Linked DNA regions of Homo sapiens: all the other regions are linked to region 1. Evidence: promoter capture Hi-C in 16 types of primary human blood cells and fetal thymus (Javierre and others, 2016). All regions are on one chromosome and are shown on one strand. Each heading gives the region's core, a stretch centred on a gene start or on the middle of the fragment in contact. The rest is flanking DNA. Distances are from core to core; before and after follow the strand shown.

What was found. The method cuts DNA at HindIII sites, captures the fragments that hold promoters and counts their contacts. A CHiCAGO score of 5 or more calls a contact.
Region 2: a contact is called between a fragment that was not itself captured here and the fragment with the promoter of CDH24 in region 1, in 1 of 17 cell types (neutrophils). The highest score is 5.7, in neutrophils.
Region 3: a contact is called between a fragment that was not itself captured here and the fragment with the promoter of CDH24 in region 1, in 1 of 17 cell types (M0 macrophages). The highest score is 5.2, in M0 macrophages.
Region 4: the fragment with the promoter of RBM23 here is called in contact with the fragment with the promoter of CDH24 in region 1 in 14 of 17 cell types (neutrophils, erythroblasts, total CD8 T cells and 11 more); the score reaches 11.1 in neutrophils.

The regions. Positions count from the first base shown.
Region 1 is chr14:23,055,939-23,059,164 of GRCh38, reverse strand. It overlaps CDH24 (cadherin 24), which reads left to right and starts at 1,645. Exons shown (of 13, transcript NM_144985.4): 1 at 1,645-1,762. It overlaps ACIN1 (apoptotic chromatin condensation inducer 1), which reads left to right. Exons shown (of 19, transcript NM_001386863.1): 19 at 1-601. The coding sequence ends at 17. It overlaps LOC105370705 (collagen alpha-2(I) chain-like), which reads right to left and starts at 1,505. Exons shown (of 2, transcript NR_169511.1): 1 at 1,123-1,505; 2 at 516-880. RefSeq lists silencers at 1,416-1,565, 1,646-1,765. The HindIII fragment of the contact is 16,339 bases long and covers 1-3,226 here.
Region 2 is chr14:22,890,075-22,893,300 of GRCh38, reverse strand. It overlaps RBM23 (RNA binding motif protein 23), which reads left to right. Exons shown (of 14, transcript NM_001077351.2): 14 at 1-97. Among named protein-coding and RNA genes, the nearest start is that of REM2, 8.5 kb to the right of the region's middle. The HindIII fragment of the contact is 1,862 bases long and covers 772-2,633 here.
Region 3 is chr14:23,186,146-23,189,371 of GRCh38, reverse strand. It overlaps a transcript of RNF212B not described here. Among named protein-coding and RNA genes, the nearest start is that of SLC7A8, 4.1 kb to the right of the region's middle. The HindIII fragment of the contact is 4,312 bases long and covers 1-3,226 here.
Region 4 is chr14:22,917,600-22,920,825 of GRCh38, reverse strand. RBM23 (RNA binding motif protein 23) reads left to right here and starts at 1,677. Exons shown (of 14, transcript NM_001077351.2): 1 at 1,677-1,827. It overlaps PRMT5-AS1 (PRMT5 antisense RNA 1), which reads right to left and starts at 1,370. Exons shown (of 2, transcript NR_120600.1): 1 at 1-1,370. PRMT5 (protein arginine methyltransferase 5) reads left to right here. Exons shown (of 17, transcript NM_006109.5): 17 at 1-297. RefSeq lists a silencer at 1,303-1,602 and enhancers at 1,863-1,932, 2,023-2,132, 2,203-2,372, 2,861-3,226. The HindIII fragment of the contact is 7,114 bases long and covers 1,249-3,226 here.

The DNA.
Region 1 (3,226 bases), core at 396-2,895:
GGGGTGGGCGCCGCTAGCTGGGAAAACACTAGAGCTGCAGGTACCAGCCACTCGGCCCCAGGGGGTTATGGCCACAGAGGGATAGGCACAGTCTCCACCACCCTGGAGCCAAGGGTCTTTCACATCACCTATCCCTACATACATACCAAATGGAAAAGTGGCCATCCTTTTCCCCCCAAACACACCCCCTTAACCTATCTCTTGGGACTTAGCCCGACCCTCCCTCTCATTTCCCATTAAGTCTGAGAGGCAAGAGCTAGGTTAGGCAAGGAGGTGGTTGGCCAGAGATGGGGAACAGCCAGGTGCCCCAGTCCTCTGATTTTTCCTCCATCCTGCTTACCACCTCCCTGGGTACTTACAGCCTTCTCTTGGGAACAGCCGGGGCCAGGACTGGGTCACCTATGAGCTGAATCAGCATCTCCTCCTGAGTCCCAGGGCCCCTGCAGTTCCCAGTCTCTTCTGTCCTGCAGCCCTTGCCTCTTTCCCACAGGTTCCACTTTATATCCACCTTTTCCTTTTGTTCAATTTTTATTTTTATTTTTTTTATTATTAAATGATGTGGTCTATGGAAAAAAAAATAAAAATCTGACTTAGTTTTAAACTGTGTGAGTGGCTTTCTTTGGGCAGGTTAAGAAGCCACTGTGGATATCTGAGCGTGGACATCTGAGGATATCTGGAGTAGGAGTTGCTCTCATTCCATGTGTTCCTTTAGGCTGACTGCTTCCTGCTTATTGAACTTCCCACGTCTTTTATCCCCTGCCTTGGCCCTGACCAACCCAAAGCTGTGGACCTTCCTCATTCGGGAAGGCATGGAGCAACCTGTGTCCGTGGCGGCACCCCAGCAGGGCTAGGAGGGTGGGTCCTCTTCTGGTTCCTGGTCCTGTGCACGGTTAAATTAGGGGTTTGGTCACCTGCCTGCCACCTTGGTGCCTCCCACAACTACCACCAGGGGGCGGCAGCTCCTCGCTCTGTTGGCCCCTGTAACCGAGCTTCCCAAGAAGGGTTCCACTGCCCGCCTCCGACCTCCCGCCGATGTCGTGCCTCTGTTCCCGACCCGCTCCCTGGGCCCGGGCCTCGGACTCTCTGGACCCTTCTGCCGTCCTTAAGTGTCCCCCAGCTGACCTGCTACCGTGCTTTGCATGGGCTCTCAAAACGCCGCCGCCTTGCAGCTGGGATTCCATCCACACCAGTCCCAAAAGCCAGCCGGGAACCGGGAGCCCGGAGCCGGGTCTCTCCGCAGTGGGCTCCGAATTCCCCACCTCACCGCGCGCTCGCCCGTTTTCCGCTGCGGGCGGGGACTGGCAGCTTCGCGCTCCCGGGTGCACCCGCCCCGCCAGCTCTTCGGAAATGGCCTGGCGCCGTGGCCTGGACGTCCTCCCGCCCGAGTGCCCTGCCGGGCGCTGCGGGCCCGGTCCGGGAGGGGCGCCGCATCTGTATGCGCCCCGCAGCCCAGGAGCGCCGAGGGGGCGGACGCGCGGCGCCGCCTCCGCCCCCGCCCCCGCCGCGCGGGCCCGGCTGGCCGGGGAGGGTCGGAGGCTGGGCTCTCCTCTCCCGCGCGGCGCGGAGCCGCCTCGCTCCTCCGCAGGCGGAGTCTTCTTCCCCCGCCCCCTCCGTCTCGCTCCCTTGTTCTCGCCGGGGCCGCTCAGACCTGCAGCGGAGCCGCGGCGCCCGCTCCAATCGGCTCGGGGCTGTGCCCCCGGGACCCGGCGACGGGGGCGGGCGGGGGCGCTTCCCGCCGGCCTGGGCCCCTCGGCAGTGCCAGGTAAGGGCGCCTGCCCCGGAGCAGGGGTCGGGAATCCGCGGAGGGGTAGGAGGGGGCCCGCAGCCTGCGGGGGTCTTCGGAGGGGTGCGCTCCGTGGCTGGGAGCCCGCTGCCGGCTCCCTTCTCCCGCGCTCTGCCTCTTTCCCTTCTCCCCTCGCACCTCTCTCCCTCTTTCTTCTCTCGATTTCTCTTCACCCTTCCTTCTCTGCCTGTTTGCCTTCCTTATCCCTTCCCTCTGTCTCCCCAACCCTTCCCTCTCCCTCTTGTCCTTTTTCCATCTCCTCTCCCTCTTTGCCTTTTTCTTTCTCTACCTTTCTCCCCTTTCCTGCCTTTCTCTTTTCTCTTTCTTGCTCTCCTTTCCCTCCCTCTCCTCTCCCCTTCCTGCTATCCTGTTTCCCACTCCTCTATCCCCTTCCTTCTCGCCTCCTCATCCCGCCTTCTCTCTGGTCCCCAGCCTTCCTCCGGTTTCCCCCTTCCCTCGGGAGCAAAGGGACTGTCAGGTGTGTGTCTGCTCTGAGGGAGGAGGGGCAGAAGCCACAGCTACCTGAGGGGTCCTCCCCCCCGCCCCTAGGAGAAAGGAGAGCAGTGGGAAGGGTCTCCTCTCTAGCTCCCTTCCCGTGGCCCCTCCCTGCCTCCACCCCTCCTGTCTGCTCCTTCTCCCAGAATTAAGTTCCCGAGGCCTGGCTTGACACCCCCGAAGCTGAGGTCTGCCCCTGCCTGCCCGGAACTGCCCCCGGTGACCCGTTTCCAAGCCTGGCCCCTAGGACTCCTCTCTGCCTTCAGACACCCAGGCTGCTGCCCTGGTCTCTCTCATTCTGTCTCTTGCCACTGTTCTGTTTCTGTCTCTCATCCAGTCATTTCTCTGCCGGACAGTCCCTGAGTCAGTCTAGCCGTCAGTCATTATCTGTCTCTAGCCTCTGGGTGGACCTCTCTCCCCGGTCACCTCCCCCTGTCCCCCACCCTGTATCCTCTTCCTTCAGCTCTGGCTCCCAACTCCTGTCTCACGAGCCCAGTCCCCCTTCAAGGACTGCACTGGCAGCGTGGGCTGGAGACAGGGCCTGGAGAGTGGGGCTCCCCCTTGTGGGGAGGGACTTTCACAGACTCTCAGCCCTGCCTGAGGCTGCACTCCTTGTCATCTCATGCTGACCCTAGACACCTTAAGGCCACACCTCCATGAATCCCAACTCCGTAATTTTAAGCCCTTTCTCTGGTAGCCCCGCCTCCTCCAATACCTGGCTACGTGCCCAACCTGGGAGGACAGAGACCAGATTTGGGATTCCAAGCCCTCCCAGCATCCCCTCTCCTGTGTTCCTCCCCAGTTCTCTACTCAGAGTTGACTGACCAGAGATTTATCAGCTTGGAGGGCTGGAGGTGAATACATGCAGAGCCTGGGTGGAGGAAGGATCAGCCTCTCTGCTCTCTGTCTTAGTCTGAGTTCTGGGCAGTGGAGTGTCTGGTTCCTTGG
Region 2 (3,226 bases), core at 453-2,952, 170 kb after region 1:
CATTTGTGGATGAAAGATTAAAATGTCCAGGAAAATTTACTTAGATTGATGTGGATTGAAACTATATTAGATTAATAAAAAGATGTGTGTGTGTGAACTTCCTGGGAGTGAGGGTTTAACCCAGAGGACTTCCACGTATGACCCCGGCAGTCTTTCAGAAGAGAAGAGCCCCTGTTCCAGTCTCTCTAGAGGGCTCAGATGCAGCACGGCCTAAAAGCTCATCTGTAGGCAGAGGCCCAGAGTGGAAAAATTTCCAGATGCAGGACTCCCCCGTTCCTCTGACCCTCAGGGGAGAGCACACAAAGTCTATGCTCTGGGCCAATGAGGCGGTCTTGTGGGCAAAGGGGAGTGGGAGTAGCAGGGGCTGGGCAGGGGCTGGTAAGGGAACACGGACTCCAAGACAAAATTGCAGTGGTTAAGAGATGCATGAGGACAGAAAGGACCTTACCTGGCATGGCAGCTCAGGTCCCAGTGCCCTCTGCTGACCTCTCACCCCAGCCAAGATCAATGGCTCTACTTTGCCTTGAGAGAGAAAGAGAGAATGGCCTGGCTCTCAGAGAAGGCCTCACCTCTCCCAAGTCTGGCGGGAGCCTGGCTTCAGCTTCCGTCTGTTCTGAGCTATTCCCTGTAGGCGTCTGGAGGGAACACACAGATGGGTCGGGCTGATGGGACTGGCTGAGTTGGGGGAGGGAGGCTCATGGTGTGTGGCTCCCCTCGTGGGGGAGGTCTTGCCATCATGGTCTTCCATACACGAAAGACATGTTTTAAGCTTCTGCCACGTAAAAGGCACTGGGCCTTTCTTGTTCCTCATCCTCCTCTCTGGCCACATCTGACCATTGGTGATACTCTCCTAGAAACCCCTCCTCTGGCAGCAGTCACAACAGGCTCAATCCTAGTTCTCCCACTACCTCTTTGGCAGCTGCTTCTCCACCTTCTCCATCTATATATCCCCAGGATCTCCTTGTTCCCTCTTCTTTCTCTGGACCCCTAAGGCTTTGTTTTAAATTATTTTGTTTCTTTCTTTTTTTTTTTTTGAGACGGAGTCTCTCTCTGTCGCCAGGCTGGAGTGCAGTGGCATGATCTCAGCTCACTGCAACCTCTGCCACCCAGGTTCAAGCGATTCAGCCTCCCGAATAGCTGGGATTACAGGTGCCCACCCCTGCGCCTGATTAATTTTTGTAGTTTTTAGTAGAGATGGGGTTTCGCTATCTTGGCCAGGCTGGTCTTGAACTCCTGACCTCATGATCCACCGGCCTTGGCCTCCCAAAGTGCTGGGATTACAGGCGTGAACCACTGTGCCCGGCCTATTTCGTTTCATTTTTGAAGTGGTACTAAATGACACAGTTAAAAGTTCCAAAGGTAGGCCAGGCGCGGTGGCTCACGCCTGTAATCCCAGCACTTTGGGAGGCTGAGGTGGGTGGATCATGAGGTCAGGAGTTCAAGACTAGCCTGGCCAAGATGGTGAAACCCCCGTCTCTACTAAAAATACAAAAATTAGCTGGGCGTGGTGGTGGGCACCTGTAATCCCAGCTACTCGGGAGACTGAGGCAGGAGAATCGCTTGAACCCAGGAGGTGGAGTTTGCAGTGAGCTGAGATTGTGCCACACTGCACTCCAGCCTGGGCAACAGAGCAAGACTCTGTCTCAAAAAAAAAAAAAAAAATTTCCAAAGGTAGAAAAAGGGCATACAGGCTGGACGCGGTGGCTCAGGCCTGTAATCTCAGCACTTTGGGAGGCTGAGGCAGGCGGATCACCTGAGGTTGGGAGTTTGAGACCAGCCTGACCAACATGGAGAAACCCCATCTCTACCAAAAATACAAAAGTGGCCGGGTGTGGTGGCACATGCCTGTAATCCCAGCTACTCGGGAGGCTGAGGCAGGAGAATCGCTTGAACCCAGGAGGCGGAGGTTACAGTGAGATCGTGCCATTGCACTCCAGCCTGGGCAACAAGAGTGAAACTCCGTCTCAAAAAAGAAAAGAAAAGAAAAGAAAAAGGGCATACAATGAAAAGTCAGCTTCCCATCCTGGTCTTCTACTCACCCAGTTCCCCTTTCCAGAAGCAGCCAGTACCATCTTTTTTTTTTTTTTTTTTTTTTTTGACAGAATCTCACTCTGTTGCCCAGGCTGGAGTACAGTGGCACGATCTCGGCTCACTGCAACCTCCACCTCCTGGGTTCAAACAATTCTCCTGCCTCAGCCTCCCAAGTAGCTGGGATTACAGGCATGTGCCACCATGCCCAGCTAATTTTTGTATTTTTAGTAGAGATGGGGTTTCGTCATGTTGGCCAGGCTGGTCTCGAACTCCTGACCTCAGGTGATCTACCCGCCTCGGCCTCTCAAAGTGCTGGGATTACAGGCATGAGCCATCCTGTGCCTGGCCTGTAACAAACCCTTTTGTGAATCTGATGAAATTCATGAACCCTATTCTCAGACACAGGTATGACTACACAAATACATCAGATTGTATGTACCATTTCACAAGACGCAGACTCCATCAGTAGTCTGGGGTAAGGATCCCAGCCTGTACTGCACCTTCTCCCTTAGTATAATTGTGGATCCCCTTGCAAAATGAAAATACAGGGCTCCTTGTTCGAAGAATTTTAAGAACATAACAGCAGAACATTAAACTAAGCTTAGGGCCCTATGTGACTGCACAGGTCACCTTTTCTCCTTGCTCTTCTACTACTATCTTTATGGTAATTATTCTCAAATCTGTTTCTCTTGTCCCAACTTGTTCTGAATTTCAGATTCAGATTCAACTCTAGAGAGCTGCTGAAACTCTATATAGATGTTCTTCTAGCATCTCAAATTCAGTGTCTCCAAAATGGAGCTCCTTACTCTCACTACCTCCTCTGCCCCTTTACTCCAAGTTCTGCACCATCCTCTCACCACCTACAACTTTTTCCTCTCTTTATACTCATCCACTAAGTTGCCAAGTCCCATTGATTCTGATGCTCAAACCCATGCCTCCTTCCTTTCCCACTGCCACCCCCCTCAGGATGGCCTTTCATTATCCTCTGTATGTATCACTATTAACTGGTCCCTAAACTCAGCTCCTCAGTACTTGCCTCTGCAGCTCCAATCCATACACACCTCTCCCAGCCTCCTCTTCCCAAAAGACCATCCTAATCATGACTTCCACATTCAGATACCTGCAGTGACTCTCCCTGCCTACAGAGTTGGGCACAAACTCTTTTTCCTGGCATTTAAGGTCCTTTACAGTGGGA
Region 3 (3,226 bases), core at 349-2,848, 130 kb before region 1:
TGCACAAATAGGGGAGATACATAGGAACACAGACAGCACATTCATTTCAATGGGAGGGAAGGCAGAGGATGTGGGGAGAGCTGCAGGTAGATTGACAGATTTAGTAAATGGAGCATGGGGAAGTTCTCTTCTGCCTATTCCCATTTTCTCCATGAAACAATAGTCAAAGATGTCAACTAGAAGCGAAGATTTGGGGTGTGGTATTGGTTTGAAGAGAGGAGCAGGTAATTGGAAAGGTCAGTTAACTACAAGATTGTGGTAGGATTGCTGGCAGTGTTAAGGGCCTGCTTGAGATCTGTGCTCTGTATAAAATAATCTTCAAAGTCAAAACCTTGATTGTCTTTTTCTTCTCTGTGTTCCAGCCCCTGTACAGGCACCAACAGCTACATCTTGCTACAATTAGTTGGTATATCAAGGAGTCATTTGGTAATTATTTTATTTATTATGCATTAATGTACATCAACATTTATTTATACATTAATTCATTCAATCAATCATATTTATTGAGTGCCAGGCACCATTTTAGGTACTGGGGTTACAGCAGTGAGCAAAGCAGGTCTTTGCCCTCAGGGAACTTGTCATCTACATCTTTAAAAACCTGAGGCCCAGCACAGTGGTTCACACAGTGGCTCCCAGCACTTTGGGAAGCTGAGGCTGGAGGAACTCTTCAGGCTAGGACTTTGAGATCAGCCTGGGTAATGCAGTAAGACCTCATCTTTACTAAAAATTTTTTAAAAATTTGCCAGGCATAGTGGTGTGCACCTGTAGTCCCAACTACTTGAGAGGCTGAGGCAGGAGGATCACTTGAACCCAGAAGTTCAAGGTTGCAGTGAGCTGTGATCACACCACTGCACTCCAACCTGGGTGACAGAGTGAGAGTGAGACCCTATCTCTAAAAAAAAAAAAAAAAACCCTAATCTTTGTCAAACATAATGAAAACCAATTAAGAAGGGGAAGTTTCCATATTTAAGTATTCAAAGCTGGAGTCACTTAAATCCTGAGAAAGAAGACTGTTAAGGCCCCATGACAGATTGGACCCAGCAAAAGAATCAAGAAAATGCGGAGATCTGGCCTGCCACAGGCAGTGCCTCTTTATTTCTTTCCCACTAGTGCTGGGCTGGCTCCATGGAATCCCACCAAGTGCAGCAGACAGAGGAGTAATCTGTTGGAATTTTTGTCTCTGGTGTCAGAGCAAGGATTCATCATTATCTCCAGAAGAGCTGAATTAATTAACCATCATAACAAAGCAGGGTCAGCTGCATCCAAATTCTCAGGACTGCATAAACCCTAGAAGACACAACTTCCTTTGAACTTATGAATATGCCCAAAAGGCAAACAGAGCATACACTAAAAAGGGCTTAATCACTGACCGAGTCTCCTCATTTCATCTTCCTTTCTTTCTGACCTATTTTGGCCTTTTCTTTTTTTAATTTTTTCTTCTTTTCTCATTAATTTTCATCTGCTTTTCATTTTCTAATGAAGTAAAGGCATCTAAAACTACTGGCTCAGGAAGGCCCCATCTAATCGACCATAGGCAGTGATCCCTGGGACTCTGGGAAGAAAGTTGGCTTTAATTTAAAGCAGGGTTTCCTTCTGCTTTAAACTAAAGCACATAGATATGGGGCACATAGTTACGAGAAGAAGGATGGAGTGAGCGCATGGACTGTGAGTTGACTCCAGGGAGAGATTTGGGTCCTTTGTTGGTAACCTCAGACTTCCCAGCTCTGTTACAAAAAGCAAGAATAAAGTGCTGTCTATTGGATCTAGAAAAAAAAATCAGGAATGGAGTGCATGAGCTTTGTGCTCTATTCCTTTGCATTAGCAGACACGTCTAACTTGTCTCTGAAAGGGAATATTAACCCGGGTGTGGTGGCGCACATCTGTAGTCCCAGCTACTCGGGAGGCTGAGGCGGGAGGATCACTTGAGCCCAGGAGTTTGAGGCTGCTGTGAGCTGTGATTGTGCCACTACACTCCAGCCTGGGTGACAGAGTGAGACCTTGTCTCTAAAAAAGGGGGGAGTAGGGGAATATTAGAACATGACTGCGTGGGGGTTGTGTGTGTTTGTGTTTTAACTATCACAAGCAGCATGTCCCAAGCCATAACCTTTTCTGTCCAGTAGGTGTCAGCTACGCACAGCCTTTCTCTTTCTAAATCCATATTTGTAAGAAAACGGCCTTTCATCCATAATTTTCCCTAGTTAAAGGGATCAATTTCTTCTGATCTGAAGCACGCAAAACAGCTGAAACAGTGGCTCCGATATTGGAAACAGAATTGTACTACGTACTTGGGATATGGCCACACTGAGGACTGTGCGAAGGGGGTGACAAATGTTGGGGGGGCCCAGGTGAAGTCCTGTGGGTCTCACTGAGCAGATAAGTGTTAGGATCAAGGTGAGTCTCTAAAAGGCACAGTTAAGACACCAAAGCAAAAACACAGAGTTTCCCTCAGGTGAAAGAAATTGAGGCTTTGACCAGTAGCTATAGCATCCTGAAAAAGTGCTCAGTGTAAACTATCAATCTCCCATTTGCCCTCAAATAGACTGTCTTGTTTTTTACCTCAGGTAAAATATTTCTTTAAGCCTCAGGTTTCTAATTTTTAAAATCTTTAAGATAACTGCCTCGTCTGCCCAAGATACTACATGAGGAGGAAAAAAATTGAGATATTGTTCAGAAAACCATTTGTGGGCTATAAAGCACTATTTAAACGTAGAGAATAGAATAAAAATATAAAGGCAAATGCAGAATAGAGTAATCCCAGCACTTTGGGAGGCCGAGGCGGGTGGATCACAAGGTTAGGAGTTCAAGACGAGCCTAACCAACAGGGTGAAACCCCGTCTCTACTAAAAACACAAAAATTAGCCAGGCATGGTGGCAGGTGCCTGTAATCCCAGCTACTTAGGAGGCTGAGGCAGGAGAATCACTTGAACCTAGGAGCCAGAGGTTGCAGTGAGCCGAGAGCCGAGATCGCACCACTGCAGTCCGGCCAGAGCAGCAGAGCGAGACTCCTTCTCAAAAAAAAAAAAAATGCTCAAAATTTAATAAACATTAGTTTGTAATTTTTTACAGATTTTTGTCAACATATTACACCAAGGCTTTTCTTTCTCTCTTGTGTTCAATGTTAGTCACCTGGAATTTTGACACACTTAAGAGTTTATGTCACAAAAAGATTCCAACCTACAGAGAGGCACTTAATATAAATAATGCTCCCTTTGAAAGTGGGGAGATT
Region 4 (3,226 bases), core at 428-2,927, 140 kb after region 1:
TGGGCTGTGATTCCCCTTGCCCATCAGAGAGGAGCATTTCAATCTGCTTTCCTGCCTTACATCAAGGTGGGCAAGGGATTATAATTAATTGCAGGGCTCAAGCCACCAATCTATGAAGACCTCAGGCCAGGGGGTGAGGAATTAGTGCTGGATTTGAAGCTACGCACTCAGCCTCAAGAACTCCCTGGAATATCCCTGAGAACATGGGGTTTGAACGGATTTTCAGCCTTTTTCTGTTCTTGTTTTGATGGTTTTGTGTAAGAGGAAATACAAATAAAGTTATAGCCCTTTACTGCACGACCATGCTGCCCCCTGCCACTATTTTCCCACACCTCACTTAGACCCAGGCATGTTCAGATCTGTCCTCTTAGCCTATCCAAGACCCAAAGGGGCCTAGTTGTATTCCCTACTTAGGAAGCTGAGCAATGACTATTGTAGTCCTGGATATAGGCCTTTCTGACCAGCTACAGTGAGCTCTTGTCCATTAGAACCTACAGTTAGGCTTTTCTCTGGGGAGGAGGCATAGAGTTTGCCACCTTGGAAAAAGATGGAATAGTGAGTGAAGCCAGTTTCTCTTCTGTATTCTTGAGCTACTGCACGGGCAACTGGTTACCTCTCCTTTGTTACCTCTTGGGAAGACTGGAATCCATCCAGGAATCTCCAGCAAGAAGCTACCTGTTTTTTTTGAATAAAACCACAGGGTTACAGTTTGAAGTCCTAAGAGATCATCTAGTCCAATTTTCCATTTTACAGAGGGGGAGTTTGAAATGGGTACAATGATGTGATATTAGTATCCAAGTCAGAATTGGAAGTCAGGTCCTCCGACTCTGGCTCTCCCCATGTTATAACCAGCTACATTTTTGGTAGCTACAGTAGACCACAGAAGTGTCTAGGGGCTCCTGGAGGCCCCTGGAAAGTGAGGGTGGACATCAGTTCCTTCTTTCCGGTTAGAGGACTCAGTACTGCTACATCCAAGGAGTCACCTGAGAAACTTTCAAATTTACCCTTGCAGTGGGAAATGTGGGGGTACTGATTTGAACGGAAGTTATGACCTGTGGGAGCAGGCCATGACGATAGGGCAGAGTGTGGGCCAAGACAAGTCTGTGGCAAGATCTGCTTTTCCCTGGTCCCAAGCACCGAGGTCAGGAGAGGTGGTCGGGAAGGTTGTTTAGGTAGCCGGCTCAGAACGGGGATTTCGAGTTCAGCATCCCCGGACGTTAAACAAACGCCGCTGTTCTCTACAAAGCTTAACCTTAACGACCGACGTGACTCCTTCAGCAAATCCGAGTAGGGACGGCCAAGGATGTAAATTGTGCCTCCTCGTTGGCTCCGCCCATCGCACTGGTCTAGTCTACGCGAGCACCAGGAGTGGGGTTGGTGGCTTCTTCACTCCCGTTTTCAGTCCCGTTTTCCCCGCCCTCCGCAAGTCATTTAACCAATGAGAGAGTGATGGGCGGCTACCAAAGGACGCTTCCATTTTCTGGAGTCTCTGAGGTTAGCCAATCAATGGGAACTCGGTGGTTGCTAAGACGCATTTGAGTTTGCTCCACCCATACTTAGGACTTTAGCCAATGAGAACCTGTACTTTGGACGGTTGCCGCGAAACCAGTGAGGTTATTTCCAAAGCCGGGGAGTCTTGGCGCATGCGCAGATTGGGGAAGGTTCTGGAAGACGGCAGAGCTGCCGCCATTTTGCGGGAAGAGGAGGCTCTGTACCTGCAGTGCTGCTTTTCTTGCCTAGACTCTAGGAACTATCCGAGCTCCACTCCCCACAACATACTCAAAGGAACGGAGAGAACCGGGACCCCCCTGCGGGGACCCGGAACTGGTGAGAAACCCCAAAACCCGGTCCCCACCAGACGTCACCAATGCGTGACGTTGCTGCACGGCGCCTCCCCCCTGACGTCACGGGCAGAAAATGGCGTCACGAAGAGATTCAGGCGAACTTTTAACATTAAAAAAACCTTTGTTTGTTTTGACCTGGAAGTGTTAGCTACTTAAATGTAGCCCACTGCCACGATTTTAGAGTTGGGCACCCTCGTGGCTGTATCTTGCACCGATAAAGATGCGGTTTCTAGAATCCTGTGATTTTTCTTTCCGGGTCTCTGCAGCCGTGACACTTAGGGTCGCCCACACTGGAGAGGGAGCATCGACCCTCCGCGGCCTGAGAGGACACGCATCATCAGTTTCAGCCACTCGCACCACCATTCAGAGAGAGAGAAGGGAATTGAGCTTTCTTCCTCAATCTCTAGTCTGTCGAAGATTCATGTTCACTATGTTGACCTTTATGGGCTTTTCCCATTTAACTTTTTCAAGCACTCATTCCAGTAGGCGTATTATGATGCCACATATGAAGATTGAGCCCTGGGACACTGGCTCCCGCAGAGATTGTGCCAGTTGGTTGCCTATAGGACCTCTTTTTTTTTATTTTTTTAAGGCGGAGTGTCGCTTTGTCACCCAGGCTGGAGTGGAGTGGCGCGATCTCGGCTCACTGCATCCTGTCTCCCGGGTTCTAGCGATTCCCCTGCCTCAGCCTCCCGAGTAGCTGGGATTACAGGCGCCTGCCACAACGCCCGGCTAATTTTTGTATTTTTAATAGAGATGGGGTTTTGCCATGTTAGCCAGGCTGACCTCGAACTCCTGACCTCAGGTGATCCACCCGCCTCGGCCTCCCAAAGTGCTGGGATTACAGGCGTGAGCCACCGCGCCCGGCCTATAGGACCATTTTTTAAAGCTACACAACATGGGGAGGGTGGTCCTTCAAGTAGCTTTTATCGTTCTCATTGTTCCTCTTTTGTTAAGCTGCCTTCAGTTTGTAGGTGTTTGTGCCCAGCTAAGTGATCAGACCCTGGGGATGGCGCTACCATCACCCCTGGGGCTCCAGCTTTTCGTGAATTCTTCCCGAATTGGTCTGACAGTGGTTCTCTCTGCTCCTTTAGCAGTGGGGTCTATCTGTTGGCTTGTGCTATGACGAGGTCTAGGAACTGACGTGATTGTGGGTCTCTAATACTGTTTTTGGAGCAGGATGGAAGAAAACATACTCTATGTGGATGAGATTGAGTGGACCTTGACCCATAAGTTGGGACATGAAGAGAGCGTTTGAAAACTACCAACCTGGGCCGGGTGCAGTGGCTCACGCCTGTAATCCCAGCACTTTGGGTGGCCGAGGCGGGCGGATCACGAGGTCAGGAGATCGCGACCATCCTGGCTAACACGGCGAAACCCCG